2 separate regions of the Homo sapiens genome follow, and region 2 is linked to region 1. Evidence: promoter capture Hi-C in human tissues and cell types (Jung and others, 2019). All regions are on one chromosome and are shown on one strand. The core of a region is centred on a gene start or on the middle of the fragment in contact, and the rest is flanking DNA. Distances in the headings are between cores, read along the strand shown. Region 1 holds the start of HCRTR2 (hypocretin receptor 2). Region 2 has its middle 23 kb from the start of MLIP-AS1.

Region 1 (2,519 bases), core at 6-2,505:
AGTTTTCTCACCCTTAGAGCACTCCCATAAGGATGGAAGTAGTGAATTGTGGTGGTCACATTCAAGCTAGATGGGGACATGTCAGCAATGTTATCAGGAGGCTTCTACTCTGAAGCTGAAGTTCAGACAAGATTTCCAGGCTCTTCCCAAGTGCAAGATTGTAATTACTTAAATGCAATATTTTTACCATGTTTATTAAGAATAAAAGGATCATGAATTCACATTCTGACAAATGCTAGAATACTTATTATTAGAGACAAAACCAGTGCATGAGAGAATGGCAGGTGACATCAGCCCTGAATCAATGGGAAGAAAGACCCAATGGGATGTGGTATTTACCAGAGAGAGCACTTCTGCTTAGATTGCTACATCCTACAGTGAATGTTTAATATCATTGAGTATATTGGTGGTCTGTCATGCTTGACAACATTAACTATGATCATATTTATGACACTTGGCGTCCTTCAAGAATTTGTAGCTCTATTTCACATGACACTTAACTATCGCAAATACAAATTCCAGCTAAATAGACCCTTCAGTTTAAAAACAGTCTCATTCTCAAATTTTAAGGAGAAAGTGAAGACGGAGATGTCTTAAAGACTCGGCAAGTACTAAGTTGGCAAATGTCAAATGTTAAAATAAGTTTATATTAAATGTTAAAGTGTTTGCCTGGAATGACTTTTCCATTGTCCTGCTTGAGAAACACAGAGGCACCTCCTTATTGCTTTTATATTTGCTTTACAAAGACAAATGTATCAACATGCTCTGTATTAATTGTATGTTGACATTTTTGTCATATCCACAGACTGATGCATGTCTGTGCATGGTTTATAATAAGTGCACGTAAAAATAGAGAAAATAAGTAGAAAAAGAGAGAGATTTAACTCTCACCCCCCACCCCCCAAAAAAACAGATTAAATTAGTTTTCATTACTTTTTTTTTTTTCTTCAGCTTCAGCTCTCCCTCAGCGAGGGAGGAGGCTGTGGGCTGCGGACTGAGTGCTGGAATGAGGAGTAATTGAGCTTCAGCTGAGCCGGACGTAGCTTTCTCCTCCTGGTGTCATTGCTGCAGCCTCCAGTGCCGGGTCCCTAGTTCCTCAGCTGCCTATCTTCCCGGTGCAACATCGCCTGTAAAGACAGCAAAGCCACCGCAGAAGTTGCCCGGCAGAAGACTCCGGAGGCATTGGCTCAGTAACTTTTCACGTCATTTTCTGCTCGGGAGCCCCTTCTAGCCTCTCCGCGCAGCCTTTCCCACCGCAAATCACCAGTGCTCATGGGGCAGGCGGAGAGGAGCTTGCAGCATTGAGCGGAACCGGACTTGAGCCCGTGATGTCCGGCACCAAATTGGAGGACTCCCCCCCTTGTCGCAACTGGTCATCTGCTTCGGAGCTGAATGAAACTCAAGAGCCCTTTTTAAACCCCACCGACTATGACGACGAGGAATTCCTGCGGTACCTGTGGAGGGAATACCTGCACCCGAAAGAATATGAGTGGGTCCTGATCGCCGGGTACATCATCGTGTTCGTCGTGGCTCTCATTGGGAACGTCCTGGGTGAGTCTCCTCCCGGGCAGCCCTCCTAGGGGCTATCACCCCCTCTCCGCCCCGGGCTGAGAAGGCTCTAAAGAGACCCCTCCCTCCCCCGGGAAGCAAACAAAGAGGTCGCTGCTCTCGGATGGGGTTTTCTAATAAAATAATAATAATAATAGAAAGTTTTCTGATTTTCCGAACCGGGACCGAGCCCTGGAAAGGTTATTCCCTGTTTTGCAGGAATAACGGGGAAACCGCGTTTCTTTTTCGAGCACCTAGATTACAAGCGCAGGGAGAGGGGCCGCGGCAGGGATCTCCAGGTGGATTTTGTTGAGTGTGTGTGTGTGTGGGTGGGTAGGTGGGGGAGTCAGTCATCCCTTTGTGTAACGTGGCTGGGTGTTTCAGGGGGGTTGGGACGAGACAGAGCTTGCAGAATACAAAGCTACATCCCTAAGGAGCAAGCTCTCTGTGGCTGTGGAAGTCACAAAGCATTTGTGAGCTAGGTGGCATTGCCCTTTGGCGAGGAGGTTTAGTCTCCAGTCAAGAGGTGGTAATGAACCAGCAGGGAGTGGAGACGGAGGCAAAGCAGGGAAGTGCACTCACTCATAGAAGCTGAATTAAACAGGATCCATGCCTGGAGCAAGAAGGAGGGGCATCGGAGAAAAGTACCACAGAGATCTCAATCATCCATCCATCCATTCATTCTTACATCCATTCAGCCAAATATTTTTTTTTTTCAGTCTGCTTGTTGCCAGGCTCAGGAATTATTCATGTCAACTGTTTGTTGTTGTTTTGTTTTGTTTTGTTTTCTCCAAAGATGAGACTAAGCTTAATGCTAGGCTATTTGTCCCGGTCTAGGTCTGTATGCAAACACGGGTTTCCTCGACCCCTCATCCCCCTCCCCCTAAACAATTTCTGAGGGTTGGGGAGGGGGTGAGATGGCAACATGGTGAGTGCGATGATGGAATGTATTAGGGCAGTTGGGGAATATA
Region 2 (2,519 bases), core at 9-2,508, 1.1 Mb before region 1:
TTTGATCTGTAGTTTGTTGAATCCAGGGATGCAGAACTCGTCTATATGGAGGGCCAACTTCACACAAAAATTTAAGAAAAAATTTTTTCTTTAAAAAAGACTCAAATCAACTGTATTTTTAATTTGAGCATAATAGACTGAACCACAAGACAAGCTTAAACTATTTCCTATTTCTCTTTGATACTATAAAGTTTTGTCAACCTAATTCTTTGTAAAGTTACAGTGAAAACAACCTGGAAAAATATGGAGTGGTTAAGTTCAAAAGTGATTCCTTTTGGCTCACTTAACAATCTTTTTTGCTAAGGGTTTTAAAATTTTTGTCACAGTGTGTCTGCTGTATAGTTTCTCACTTTCTTCCATTTTTCCCCTTCTCTGTTACTTTTAGGGGTAAAGCACAACAAATAATTGTTTGCTCTCTGTTGTGTTAAGTGTTAAATGTGGGCCATTGCTGATACCCATGCACGACTGCTTTACTGTTCACTGTGACAGCTGTCCAGCTTACCCCGTAAGCCTGTCTGCCTCACTCATCATTTTTGTTATTCTCCTTCAATTTTCAAAGAGCCTTAGAATCGGGATGATCTAGCACAGTTTGATATGATGTTAGATTTTTTTGTATTTTTATTTCCCCACCTCCCCCCCATGTTTAATGTCCCAGATAATGGATTGGTAAGAATCCAGTGCTTTAAGCATGGATTCTCTGCTTACATTTTAGCCACAAAAACATGCTAGTATATGCAGTCAATGATTTCCAAGCTGATAGCTAATGTAATGTGCCTCTAGAACCACGTCTCTGCTTTTGTTTCTGGAAAAGGCAAGGCATGTCAAATTTATTACATGCAAAATTTGCCTTCCAACCTTGTGGAAACTTTTTCACAGGTAAATTGGTATCCTGGGATTTTTTTTGGTTGCCCAGGTCAAAGAGAAAATAAACATTATAAGTTAACTCATTATATAAGGCAAGGATTCTTTATCTTTTTTGAGTCATGCACTCTTTTTGCAGTTTGAGGGGCCTATGGTCTTCTTTTTAGCATATTGTTTTTTTATGTGCATAGTACAAGATTCAGAAATAGTTCTAAGAACTATTATAATTTCAAAGTAGTAATGAGAACAAGTGATATTTTGCTATATATGCAACACTTGTAATGTAAAATATCTATGATTTTTATAGGTATCAATGTCACAGATAGTGCCTAATTCTACACTGGTTGATTGATTATATTCATAATTGAAGGAAATGTTAAATTCCAGTTAGAGATTAATAAAAACAAAACATAATATATTTCCCATCATGGACCCATTGAATGCTATTCATAGACCCCTTAGACAGAACTAAGATGAATACTTTAGATAGAGTTAAGACCCACGTCTATATAATGTAGGTGACTTAATGTATTGATTCTCTCATAGGTATTTGCATTTTTAAAAAGATCTTCAGGAGGAGAGAAATGGTTTACATAAAAATAATAAATTTATAATAATAAAATATCAACTACTGTATGGTCTTCTATTATGAGGATGCATCTGCTTTGCATGCATCTGCTTTGCTGTAACAATGGTATATATTTTAATGAACATGACAAACTTTAATATGCATGAATGCTGTTTCTATCAAAGTTATCTTCAAAAAGAAAAAAAAACAAAGTTATCTTCATAGGCTATATTCATATTGCATAGTATTGCTAATTTCAAAAACTTCCTAAAGAATAATTATTTCTCTATTTTTTTATAGCTGGAGTCCTAATCTTTTAAGTCTCTTGAGACATATGATAAATCATTGTTTTTCAATAGTGGATTTTAGTTTTAGAAAGAGCTAAAAGTAATAATGAGTTAACCTGTTTAGGATTTTTTTTAAAGGTATAAATTTAAGGCAATGGAACCAATTTTCTTAAAAATATAAATGACTTTTAAAGTTAATTCAAAGAAGTTTCAAAAATATTTTGAGGGATAGCAGAAACATTAAGTAAACATATAGATTGTCCCTGGTAACATCTTTGGCGGTAATATTCATATGAATATGTTTGTTTTTAAAAAATCTTACTTCATGAGCTATGTCTTGTAATTTTGGAACTGCTCCTATAAAATTCATAAAATCTATCAGGAAAAAAGAGAGAGAAATGAAAATAAACCAAGCCTACTGCACATGAAACATTAGCCATGAAGTCAGCTTGCTCTCTGACCTGCTTCTTCGTAGTTCTTTGGTGCCTATTGCCTCACAATCATGTAGACCCTATTACAGAATTACAGTTCCCCTTAACTGTTCCACAGATAACAGCTTGAACATTATAAAACATTAAGTTTTCCCTTTGATCATTTCAGAGAAACGGATCATCCTGATGTTTACCAGAGCAATAGGCTTTAGTGGCGAAAAGGTCTTGCATACTGATGAAACTACTAACGCCAGCTGATTCCAGTGACCCCCCACTGATACCAGCTGATTTAAAAGACCCCACTGACTCAGCTGGTCTGAAGGACCCCATGAGGAACTGACTCACCAAAAAAATGCAGTTTTCACATCCTGA

Evidence for each region. Contacts are between HindIII fragments. The study calls those that stand out against the background at their distance.
Region 2: a fragment that was not itself captured here is called in contact with the fragment with the promoter of HCRTR2 in region 1 in 2 of the 25 tissues and cell types used here (IMR-90 fibroblasts and lymphoblastoid cells).

The regions. Positions count from the first base shown.
Region 1 is chr6:55,173,260-55,175,778 of GRCh38, forward strand. HCRTR2 (hypocretin receptor 2) reads left to right here and starts at 1,256. Exons shown (of 7, transcript NM_001384272.1): 1 at 1,256-1,551. The coding sequence starts at 1,329. The HindIII fragment of the contact is 12,053 bases long and covers 1-2,519 here.
Region 2 is chr6:54,069,702-54,072,220 of GRCh38, forward strand. It overlaps a transcript of MLIP not described here. Among named protein-coding and RNA genes, the nearest start is that of MLIP-AS1, 23 kb to the left of the region's middle. The HindIII fragment of the contact is 4,337 bases long and covers 1-2,519 here.